Regions from separate parts of the Homo sapiens genome. Here region 2 is linked to region 1. The links are contacts of gene promoters, found by promoter capture Hi-C in blood cells and fetal thymus (Javierre and others, 2016). All regions are on one chromosome and are shown on one strand. Each heading gives the region's core, a stretch centred on a gene start or on the middle of the fragment in contact. The rest is flanking DNA. Distances are from core to core; before and after follow the strand shown.

What was found. Contacts are between HindIII fragments. The CHiCAGO score rates a contact against its expected background, and 5 or more counts as called.
Region 2: a fragment that was not itself captured here is called in contact with the fragment with the promoter of LYPD6B in region 1 in 2 of 17 cell types (M2 macrophages and monocytes); the score reaches 6.6 in M2 macrophages.

Annotation. Positions count from the first base shown.
Region 1 is chr2:149,035,926-149,042,557 of GRCh38, forward strand. LYPD6B (LY6/PLAUR domain containing 6B) reads left to right here and starts at 2,774. Exons shown (of 7, transcript NM_177964.5): 1 at 2,774-2,876. RefSeq lists enhancers at 1,844-1,903, 3,117-3,166, 3,207-3,266 and silencers at 2,527-2,866, 2,877-3,036. The HindIII fragment of the contact is 3,848 bases long and covers 2,069-5,916 here.
Region 2 is chr2:149,579,027-149,585,034 of GRCh38, forward strand. MMADHC (metabolism of cobalamin associated D) reads right to left here. Exons shown (of 8, transcript NM_015702.3): 3 at 3,101-3,245; 4 at 405-622. Among named protein-coding and RNA genes, the nearest start is that of MMADHC-DT, 5.3 kb to the right of the region's middle. The HindIII fragment of the contact is 2,567 bases long and covers 15-2,581 here.

The DNA.
Region 1 (6,632 bases), core at 1,524-4,023:
TTTTTTTTGAGATGGAGTTTCACTGTTGTGGTCCAGGCTGGAGTGCAATGGCAGGATCTCGGCTCACTGCAACCTCTGCCTCCTGGGTTCAAGCAATTCTCCTGCCTCAGCCTCCCAAGTAACTGGGATTACAGGTGCCCGTCACCACGCCCGGCTAGATATACATTATTAATATACATGTTGAGTCCTAAGTAAAGACAGGAAAAATTAGGAAGGTAAATATATCCTAAGGCTCAGAAGTTTTTTGGATTGTTGCTTCTTTGGATAATTTATATTTCATTATATTATCAGAGAACTAGAGATAGAGCAGAAACTGAAGATTTTCTAGTTCAAATATCATTCTCCTAGAGACCAGTAGAGAATAGCAATAAATAGTTATTTGTAAAGATTAATTAATTCATTCTAGAGTCTTATGAAGTCTATCAGTGGTTTTGTCCCTATTTCCAGCATTTTAATGTTGATCAGAAGTGGGCTGGCTCTCTTTGCACTGCTAGGCAGAGCTACTGTTCACTGAGCAGGTGCTTTGTGCTGGCGCTGTGCTCAAGCACTTTACGTGGATTATTTAACTTAGCCACACAACAGTATCAGAACTTCTTATTTCAGATACCCCTTTTAAGCAAAAAACTTCAAACAGAGATCTTGTCTGATTTCATGGCTGCACATTTTCCAAGTAGGAAAAACACACAATTGAGGAACATGCCCAAGGCTGCTCAGCAAGCACAGGAGAGAGAGTGGGGTGGGGAGGGAGAGATCACGTGCAAGCAAGCAAGCACTGGGGCAGAACCTGTACCCTCCTGATGATTCTCAGGCCTGTCTGGGTGGCATCACTTAGCAGGCTGGCCCAGCCAAGATCACACGCACAGCAGCAGGATTTTAAATCACAGGGGATCACATGCTCTACTGACTGAAACCAACACAAAAAAAGGTCTAGGTCCATTTCATGTGAGTGAGACCCAGAGGTGCTCCTTTGCTCAGCCCTACCTGCTGGTGCAAGTGGCTGTCCCAAAGTGCAGGCCCCACCACAGCTCCACCCTGGGACACCAGATTCCCTGCCACCATAGAGGGAGTAGCAACTGAGGTAGGGCACACCTAGGTGGGGCATCCCATATAACCTTTTCTAGGTTGGCCTTGCCCAGTGTGACGTAGCCAGCCAGGTAACACCAGATCTGAAATACCCATATGTGCAGAACCCACTGAAGGGGTGGGGTGTCTAGACCTTAAGAGTGTTGGGCTTGTTGTCAGTGGAGGGGTGGAGCAGTCTTCTTGGCCCTGACCTCACCTTAATAGAGATCCTCCCATTTTGGCCTTGGAGGTTTAATATATAGTCACGGAAGTGTACTGAAATAGTCATAAGAAGGAATGTTCTCCATACAACTTTAAAGTTGTACAGTGCTTTCTGCAGTGAAATGAATTTTTTCACGGAATGGATTTTTTTAACGAGTCTTGAAATTAACATGTGAGGAGCAGCATGACACATTACCTCGTGTGTGTGTGTGTGTGTGTGTGTGTGTGTGTGTGTGTGTGTGAGTGAAGGCCATTTGTTAAATGGAACACCTAAAAATACCATTGTTTTTGTTTTTGCGGTTGTCAGGGGCCTCAATAAATGCAAGCTGGCTCAGGAGATGCTTGACCTCAGAGGTCTGGAAAGACAGATTAGAAGTCTCAGCAGAGGACCAAACCCAGACCCCACTTCTGCAGAAGTTCTGTACCCAGGTTTCCCCACTGCAGGCATAACCAGCAGCCCCTCAAAGGCCCCAGACCAGCCAACTGTCTTTAGAAATGCAGACCCAGGATCAGCTTTGCTACCAGCCATGGAATCTTGGGTCAGTGGCCCATACTCTGAGCTGTGTTTCCACAGTGCAAGGCTGGCCGGACAGTGTTTTATTTCAGAGTTCTCCTGTCTGTGGCATCTTCAGAAGTTAAAGATTTGCTTGACCACTATAAGGTGCCCTGGGAGTGTAGACCTCCCACATCCCAGCTGCCTGGCTGGCAGTGGGTGGGGAGTAAGCAGTAGAGAGAGGACAGGTGGCCCGGAATCTAACAGCTTGCCTCTGGATTCTCCCTAGTAAGCTTGGAATGATGCTGGAGCAGCTCTGGGCCGAGGGGACCAGTCTAACGCTGGACGCAAAAGACTGGGCGCCACCTAGTCTGTTCATCAGGTATTAAATGCCCTGAGTTTTCAAAGCTCTGGTGATTCAGTAGTGGACGGGTAAGGTTCCTGCCTCTCCTGGGGCTTACCGTCCAGGGGTGGGGAGGACGTCACTATATGAAATTATCTTATTTATAGCTTAATGTCATTATTTAAAAAGGGGGAGGGAATCACTTGACGGGTGGGCAAGGTGGGGACGGGGTTGGATGGAATGGTCAAAAAAGGTCTTTCAGAGTTCTTCCAATCCTGAACTAACTCACCTGCACCCTTGGCCCAATCATTTTCACTCCCGAGGGTCTGCACTCCTCGTTTCTACATTGGTTTTCTAGGAAGAAAGGGGTTGGACCCTCCCCTCTTTAAGCTGGGTGGGGTCCGAATCCCGTGCTTCTTTCACTTCCTGAGCCGGGCTGGCTGGGTGGGAACAGGCTCCTTGCCGCCTCCCCAGCGCTGGCCACTACCACACTGCCGCCCGCCTGGGCCTCCTTTCAACCTCGTGGTGGAGCCCTGCGGTTTCCCAGCGGAGCCGGGCCCGGGGCTGCTCCCTCGCGGGCGAGGCTCACCTGTCCCGGCCCGGCCCCCTCCCGCGCCCCAGGTGGTTCAGGGCAGGGAGGAGCCGCGCCCCGCCCCGCGCGGTAGCAGCCAACGCCGGCCCCAGGCGGGTGCGCTGGGAGCCTGGGCCGGGAGCCGGGTGAGGGCGCCGAGAGGCTCGGTGGGCGCGGGCGGCGAGGTGAGCTGGGCCAGCGCAGCAGGCGGGGGCGGTGGTGGGTTCGGGACGGCTCACCCCGCGCCGGAGCGAGTGCGGGGCCGCGCGACTGCGGCGGGAGATGCGCTGCGCCCCTTCTGGGCGCGCTGGGGCAGCCAGGAGCTCGCGGGGCCGCGGGGCCGCGGGGCCGCGGGGCCGCGGCGCAGTGGCGGGGTCGGGGTCTGGTCGCTGCCTCGAGGCGAGCAGCTGCCAACATCTGGACGGGACGGGAGCAGGGGGCCGGGGCAAGGCTGGAGCGGTGTGGGTCTCTAATCGTCCAGAGCCCTGCGGGGCCAGTGACTTCGGCAGAGCCGAGGGGAGAGGAGATACTGGGGGTCAAACTGCTGGAGAGAGCGCGGAGCTGGGGCTGGGGTTCAAGGCCGATCGTGGGGCCAAGAGCGAGCGTGCCAGCTCCAGTGTTTCCCCCTGCAGCGCTTCACGCGCGACCAGCTTGGGTGCCGCCGCTTCCCTTGCCCCGGCTCTTTACTTTTGTTGTTGAATAACCTACCTTACACATTGGTTAGTTACCTGGGGCTTCTCAAAAGCCGGGTCTGGAGGCTGCTCTGACTCCAGGGGGCTTGGGTTGTGAGGCTTCAGGTCTGTATGCCCTGTGGCGTTTGGGGGGAGCTGGTGGGTGGAGGGGTGCTGTCCACCTCCCAAGGCCAGGGGATCAGAGAGTGGGAAAAGTCTAGAATGCTATTTAAATTCCAGTAACTAGCTGTGTGACCTTGGGCAAGTTACTGAACTGCTCTGAGCCTCAGTTCCCTTAAAGTAAAATAGGTATTATTAATATTATAATCATTACAACAGACTTAGGTTATATGATGTTCATGGAGTACATAGCATACTGCTTGATTTTTCCCCCTTTGTGTTGATGTGGTGATGTGTGTGTTGTGGGGTGGGGGCATTCTTTCCCACCCTGACTTGTTCATGGTTAGGCTTCCTCCAGGATGCCTTACTTGCTGACAGCATCACAGAGGCCAAGATTAGGGCTGCCAGTGCACGGGCCCTGCAGATGGAGGGGGTGTTGTCAGACTGCCCTCATCATTACCCATCGTATTTGTCAGAATTGTTTTCTTTGGGTTGGGTTTTGGTCACTTGAAAATTGCCTTATACTATGTAGAAATTGATTGGGTCACATAAATGAAAAGGTCGAGGGTTTCAGTTTAAAGCTATAGCTAGTTCCAGAGGCTCATACAAGGTTCCAGGGCTAGTTCTCTCTCTTGTATATCTTAGCTGTTTTTCTCTCTGTGTTTACTGGTTCTTAGTATGGACGATAAATAGGACTTGCACCTTCAGGCTTATCTGCTCCTTCAGAGAGAGAGACAGAGACAAAGAGGGAGAGAGAGAATCCCATCTTCTCTATCCGTATAGCAGTCTCTCTCTGTCTCTCTCTCTCTCTCTCTTTTTTTTTTTTTCTTTTGAGACAGACTCTCACTCTGTCACCCAGGCTGGAGTGCAGTGGTGTGATCTCGGCTCACTGCATGCAACCTCCACCTCCCAGGTCCAAGCGATTATCCTGCCTCAGCCTCCCAAGTAGCTGGAGTTACAGGCGCCGGCCACCACGTGGGACTAATTTTTGTATTTTTAGTGGAGATGAGGTTTCACCATGTTGGCCAGGCTGGTCTCGAACTCCTAACCTCAAGTGATCTGCCCGTCTTGGCCTCCCAAAGTGCTGGGATTATAGGAGTGAGCCACTGCACCCGGCCCCTTATAGCAATCTTATTGACATACTGGACCAAAACAGAACCAAGCCATCTCAGCAGACAGGGAGAGGTTTACACAACAGGAATGGGCACATGACCGACTGTGATTGATAGACTGGCCCACCTCTGCTGCAAGGCATGTCGGTAGGGGGCGCAATTCCCAATGAGAAGTCTGACAAAACAGGACATGTTCATTTTACTATCTCTGTCTTTGCTCACCAGCGCCTAAAGGTAGTCTGCAGTAGAATGTAGACAGCCTGAGGGCCGTATTCCATCAGTCAAGTCTTCATCTAATGCATGGAGGGCATCCTGTGTGTCCATCTTTTCATTCATTGTTTTTTGTTTATTCATTCATTCGACATATAATAAATGCTCAACATATGCCAGGGCCTCTGCCAAGGGCGAAAATGCTTGCTTTTGAGAAGCTCACAGTCTAGTTGGAAAGACAGATATGAGGATAACATCGTCTAGGACTCATCTGTCTGGGGACGTAGTGAAGACTCCCCAAAGAAACTGTAGTTGAGCTTTGAATTGAAAATGAGCTCCAGCCTGGGCAGCAGAGCAAGACTCCGTCTCAAAAAAAAAAAAAAAAAAAAGAAAATGAGAAGGGCTGGTCTAGGAGAAAAATTCTAGGCCATGTGGTAGGATTCCAGAGGGACACTTTTTGTTGTAATATGTTTAGGTTACTCTACTTTCTTGCTTAGAACATCTGAAGGTAGGTCGTTCGAAGTGGCCACAGCTCTTTGGTGGCTTCTAGAAAATTATCTTCTTTTTCCAGGGTGACTAGAGCTCCATCATGCCTTCACATGACAACATCCAAAGCAGAAAAAAGAAGGCCGGGGCTTGCTGCTTAATCTTTCTCTAGATAATAAAGGACAAATTTTCCCCGAAGTTCCCCGCGTCACTGGCCAAAGTGGTCTAACGCTTACCCTGAAACCAGTCATTGGCAAAGGAGAAGAGGGGCCCATGATTGTTTTGCCCAAGCTATTTTCCGGAGCTGTAGGAGGGGCTCACCTACCTGAGCATCCATGCTCCATGTCTGAACACAATCAGAATTCTGTTAGCAAGGAGGAAAGTGAGACTGCCTGTTGGGCTGTTAGGTAGGCAACAAACTGTGTCTCCCAGAGGTGGGGACAGGTGATGCAAGGTCTGGCACAGATTGGTAATCAGAAGTCCAATACCATGGGAGATGCCTAGGGTGTGGCTGAGGGGAGGAAAGGAGCTGAGGTTGGAAAAGTAAGTAAAGACAGGACTACCCTGTATTAGATTCCATGGATGTCACTAAGAAGCATAGTAAATCTTGGTCCAATTCCTCAACAAGCTTACACCTGAAACCTGGAAAAGCTTCTCTGAGTTTTCCATACTCCCAATAGTAATAGCAACAGTGGCTCACTCTATGGTGGCAATTCTCAAGGGGTGGATTGGGGTGGAGGAGTTTCAGAAGAGTTTCAAACCCTGTGTAGTTTGAAAAGCCTCACATATGATTTTGCTGGGCACCCACTGCCTACCTTCCCCGGAAACTCCCTGTCCCTCTCTTGAGAACACTTAGTTGCTCTAAATCATGACTTTGTTTCAGTATTGTTAACTGTCTTCAAACTAACAGGCTGGGACTTGGTGAAGATGCAATTAATGGTAGATCCTGGACTAGTAAACAATTCTCCTGATGCTAAGTCCAAAGAGCGATAACTTTGGTAGTTGCATTTAGTAGGAAACCAGCCTCTACCATGAACTGCTTTGAAATCATGTATCCTATTTTCATCTGAAATGTGAAGTGAGTGCTGCACTTTGTTTCTGCTTTATATGGTAGACATTGGTGGACATTGGTGCTGGACTTTTGGAATCAGATTGGGCAACCAAGGATGCCGCTTCTCATGATCCTCTATCCTCAATATCTAGTTAGCAAAGAAATTGGCAAAAAGACATGATCACTAATGCTGGAAGAAAGCAGAAGTGGAGGGCAGCATATTTTCCTGTTTTCAGCAACAATACTGCCATGGGCTGGCCAGGATCACTGGAAGAATGTGAGGGAATGAGG
Region 2 (6,008 bases), core at 48-2,547, 540 kb after region 1:
TCAAATTTTTCTTAAGCTTTTAAATGGCTAGAGGAATACAGAACCAGTTGGAATTAGATCCATATACAAATTTAATTGCCATTTATTAAAAATGAAAAACAGGGAACCTAAATTTCCAGTCTACAGATGTAATTACATTATGTATATCTAGAGTAGTTACTTAAAAACATACTTTTCAAGAAATATTTTAAAAATATTATAATCTACAGTAAAAAAATTATATAGCAAACACTTTGTAGAGGACAATGCCAAGTTTTCCAAAGCTATATATGCTGTTTTTGTATATACATGTACTGGAATTAAATTGATTTTTTACTTTTTCAACAAAAGTAATATGCTTATAATAATCAAGTCATATAGCATTAATAATCAGGAAAGCACAATAAATGTTACCAACAATTTACCTGAAATTCATTCACATATTGTGCCATCACAAACTCATGTCTTTCACTTGATAAAGGTTCTGCTAGAACATCAGGCAAAGTTTTATGAACCAGGCTTTTCTTCTGTGAAGCAGTCCCATTGAGGTGACAATCAAAACCTATGTTCCCAGGAAGCTGGAACCTCTGATCTTGAGGTCCAAAGGGTCCCATAGTTTCATCAGGCCACACTGTTCGAGAGCCTGAAGAGAAACAACAAAAGGAACAGTTTCTCCTTAATAGTCAAGTATATTGGTAGACTGAAAGAATGCTCTTCTTAAAATTATGTATATTTTTATCTAAAAGATCTTCAAAATCTGCTTTCCCATGTGAATATAAATAGTTTCCTATTGTTTCCAAAACACTAATCAAAGCAACTGATTGACAGATCACAGGCAAGTCCGTTATTAGGGGAAAGACTGAATAAAATACTCTAATCCATACTAAGAAATGCTTGAATGTCATTAAAAAGAAGACAATAAACCTTTACATACTGACACTGAATGAAATCCAGGATACAATGCGTTAAAAGAAAAAGCTAAGTCAAAGAACAGCATGTATAATAACATTTATTTACATCCCCATATTCACGTATTGTTTTGTTTTTGAGACGGGTCTCTTGCAGTACAGTGGTGTGATCGCAGCTCACTGAAGCCTTGACCTCTGAGGTCCACCTCAGCCTCCCAAGTAGCTGGGATCACTGGTGCACACCACTATGCCCAGCTAATTTTGTTTATTTTTGGTAGACACAAGGTCTCCTCCTCCCTCAGCCTCCCAAAGTGCTGGGATTACAGTCATGAGCCACTGTGCCAGGCCCATGTTTTTAAGTAAAGAGAAGATCTAAAATGAAACTTAGTAATGGTCGTCTGGGGAGGGGCATTCTGCTGCTGTTATCTGGTGGCACAAAATACGAACGGGAAAAAAAATCATGCATCACATGACCTAATGCTCTGTTTACCAGCCACATGAGTTAATATGGATTGCAAATATAGAACAGACCACATTACTTTATTCACTTAAAACTTTAAAAAAAATCCTAACTTATAAAAAATTCAGAAAGATTCAGAAAAGAATAAAGTAGAAAATTAAACTAATAATTACTCAGAGTAGAGATCTGGGCTTAGAGAAACAGAGGGACAACTGCTATGCATATTACTTAGCAATAAAAATAGATATTTAAAAATATCCTGTCAGAGAACTAAGTAACTGAGAATGGCCATGTCAGCATGGCTGTCTCATTCCTGGATCATGAGCCACCATATCCCTCTTCCACACTTAGGACATACATCACCCATCAATCATGGAACCATTTCCTGCTGAACCCAGACAACGTCTCAAGATTCTCAACATAAACACTCTAGTCCAGTGCCCCTCAAACTCTAAAGATGTACTTAAGATACATCTGGGATCTAGTTTAAATGCAGATTCTGATTTAATAGGTCTGGAGTGGGGCTCAAGATTTTGTATTTCTAACAAGCTCCTAAATGATACTGATGCAGATCATGTTGAATAACAAGGCTCTATCTAGACAGCCACTAATGACTACTCAAGTCACTTCCCAAGAGAAAACCTGTTAGCTATTTTTGAACAAGATGGTTTTTAAAAGTCTAACAATCCCTAGATTCTCTTTACAGAAAACAAGCATCCCATATTAATAGTAGATTTGGGCAGTGGATTTGACCATATGTTTACTGGTCATTTTAGGTTTTGTTTTCTGTGAAAGGCCTATTCATGTCCTTTTGTTTTCTGATTTTCTGTTGGGTTATCTTTTCCTATTGATCTATTATAAATTCTTTATATATTCCAGATACTAACATCTTATATAATTTGAATGGCAAAATCTTTCATTTATTATAAATATATGGTTAGTCTTTAGGTGATGTAAATTGGGGAGTAGTCAGAGAGTTAGAAAACTTGGGCAGGATGGAAGGCTCTGAATGCTCAAGTGAACTTAAATTACGTTGTAAGTAATGTGTGCCATGAAAAAAGGATTCCATGTCCAATATCTTTAGGACACATTAGGTTAAGTTTCTAAGAGTCTTTAATATTTTAGTGTGCCTTATAAGCCTCCAAGGCAGGAATATGGCATGTAGCATTTCTCAAACTTACCTACCACAGAGACTATCCCCCTACCCCCACTTTTTCTTTTTAACCTTGAACAAAGCTTCATGGCTTGAAGGTAGTCTGGGAACTACTGCTGAAAGCAATGAAAGATAACAGGTTTTTCAAGAAAGGGACATGGTTAAAATAATTTAGAATGATTAGCATGGTAGTGGTGTACCAAACAGGTTAGAAGAAACAGACTTTGTAGAAAGCAGGTAAGTTCAATAAACACTAACACATAAAAAGTACAAGGTACATTTATGAAATCTAGCAAAGAATGGGAAGAAATAATAATATGGTTTAACAGGACCAAAAGGAGATTTGTTTCAGGGAAGACTCTATGTTTGAAGACAGAAAGAAAAGTTTAAGAAGTAAGCTTTAGAAACCAGTACTTACTCTTTTTTCAATACTGTAGCTTTCTGACATAAATATATTTAGGCAGAGCTGTGATTCATTTTCAACTGAACAAACACAACTTTAGAAAAATCCATTAAGCCTTAAGAAGAAATATTAGAGGAAAATACAACTAAAAATGTTTTGAAACAATTATAAGTAAAGCAGTAACAACTTTCACTTACATATATCTGGAGGTGCAGCAGCCACATGAGACTCATCCGAACCTGATGATCCTGCAGTCGAAAAGGCTTTGGGATTGACAACCCTTTTAACTAAAGAGCAAAATCCTGGGAGATAGGAAACCAGTCTGGCTCTGTTACAAAGCACCTAGAAATGACACAAAATTAAAACTATTTGTTCTGAATATAAATGTTATACTTACATAGACAATCTCTGGCAAATCTTCACACTGCAAGGTTCTTTTAAAACCAACATTTATTCTACTTTTACTGAACACCTACTATATGAAAGCATTATATATATTTGTAATTTTAAAAATAAAAATAAAAATTAAAAAAACAAGTAATAAGTTAGTTTGGGTAAAAGCCTATGTACTTTTCAATAAAGGCTAGAATTCAAGAGTGCCACACATGAGAGAATAGACATCTAAAAGTTGTCTTATTTAGACACAACACTAAAAAGGTAGCACAACTAACAAGATTCTTCTATCCTCAATAAAGAACTCTCAAGACATCTCTTTGGACCAAAATCTGTTACTTTCGAACTTTTCTCTCTTCTTTTACTGCTATAAATTGCGCTAATTCTCTCCCATACTGTCCTTTCATTGTGGTTTCATGGCAATGTCTGCTTTTCTCCATTTCAGCACGTATCTTTGTGGTATATTTTTTTCTGCTTATATGTTCACTTACTAGACAGTGAGGTCATGTATTACAATGGATGAATGTGTAAATATCTTTCATTCATAAATTTTTTAACAATCTTTCATTCATAAATTTTTTAACAAAGTACTTGGGTCAGAACAATTTAATGCAGGGATTGGCGAACGATTTCCCAATACAGCCCACTGTTTTGGTAAATAAAGTTTTACTGTAACATAGACATACTAATTTATGTACTGCCTATGGTCACTTTCCCACGACAATGGCAGAGTTAAGTAGTTACAAGAGATATTCTGTGGCCCACAAAGCCTAAAATATGCACTATCCGGATATTTGTATTAAAAACACACATACACACAGACATTGGCAACTCTCAGTTTAGTGAAAAAGATGTAAAAACAAATATCAAATCATCTGTGAAATGCTATGAAAAGATCTGAATAATTGTTAAGAAATCCTTGGGAGAAAAGGTAATAAATTTCATGGAGGATATACTAAATTTTGAATACAGTAAAAATTTGCTTGGGAAAAGGTGCATTTCAATGAGTGACTTTCAGGAACAAAGGAATAAAGACATATTTCAAAGAGTGACAAATTCAGTGAGGGTAGGTATAAGAATGCAATTAAAAAAAGGTTTGAAATTGAACTTATGGGCAACTATAAAAGACTGTATATTTGACACAGATGGTAAAGGGCTTGTTACATCAAGATAGTAAGTCGGAATTTTAATTTGTAGGCAGGAAAGAGTCAGAGCAAACTGACAAAAACAAAGGCTGTTTTAAGAAATGTACCACTAAGGGCAGTATAAAAAATGGACTGGAGGAGGAGTAGAGAGGTGGTGTGAAAATCAGTTACCAGGATGTTGGAAAAATCCAGCCATCTGACACCTGAGAATTATTCTATTTCCTTTTCACAAAGTACAGTATTCTAATATCCAACCTATTTTTTCCTTCCTCCTTTGTCACTATGAGTGCATCTTAACTGGTCTTTTTGCCTTTCTGACATAATTTCCTACAAATTTACCCTCCCTTCCCTTACTCTACTTTTCAATTACATAAAAATATCTCCCCAACATTTCCCATTTCTCTTCATTCTTTATACTGCCATAAGAATTCTTCTGCTAAAAGATACTGTTTCCTTATCGTTCTAGAAAATTCTAGCAAATTCTTACTTTTTCTTTAAGACCTGGATAAATATAACCTCCTTTGTGATACGTGTCTCCAAAGCATTCTGTCAACCTGAAAATTTAGGCTGCCTCTCTTGGGGTCTGTACCCAACTTGCCCAAAGAAACAAAAATGGTAATTATTTGGCTTTTTACTTACTAAACAAACTCAGACTTTTGGGTGTTTATATAATACAAATTTACCTTTACAACTAAGGATATTTAAGAGAATGCCTCAGGATCTAAAGGAATCTAAAATTTCAAATTCCAAAAATATTTTCAGCAAGGGCTCAAAATAAGCAGCAGCAAAATAAAAGATTATCTGAAGGGGCCAATATTTGAGAGCATGTAATAGTAATAATCAATGTTGGACACTATGGGTCCAAGTTCTATAGTAAGTGCTGTACATATACATTGTTTTATTTAATTTTCATAACAATTCTATATACTGTTATTAGAACTAGTTTCAGCATGGTTAAACTACAATCTGCGATCATTCACATCGTTTCACAAGCAAAAAACAGAAGGAGGAGGAAGATCATCCAAATTATTTCAAAAATCGCCTATTATTTATTATTTTAGCCTGTCTATCAAGGCCATTAGATTATATTTTGACATTCTTTTCTTGGTGATAGAACTTTTAACAAAAGTTATATAATAAAATATGAGTTTTGTTCCTAGCCTAAGAAAATCCAATTACCAAATTTCATTTTAATAGCAAAATAAACCAGTATCTAAATTGCCCACTGAAAGCGACAGTTGATGATAGTACTAATCTGTTTCAAACCTTACCCGTTAACCTGTGAGATTCTCAAATCTTGGCTGGGTGCAGTGGCTCATGCCTGTAATCCCAGCACTTAGGGAGGCGAAGGTGGGTGGATTACCTGAGGTCTAGCCTGGCCAACATGGTGAAACCCCGTTTCTACTAAAAATACAAAAAAAGCCAATTAGCCGGGCATCGTGGCAAGTGCCTATAATCCCAGCTACTTAGGAGGCTGAGGCAGGAGAATTACTTGAACCCAGGAGCCAGGATTTCAGTGAGCAGAGATCCCGCCATTGCACTCCGGCCTGGGAAACAAGAGTGAAAC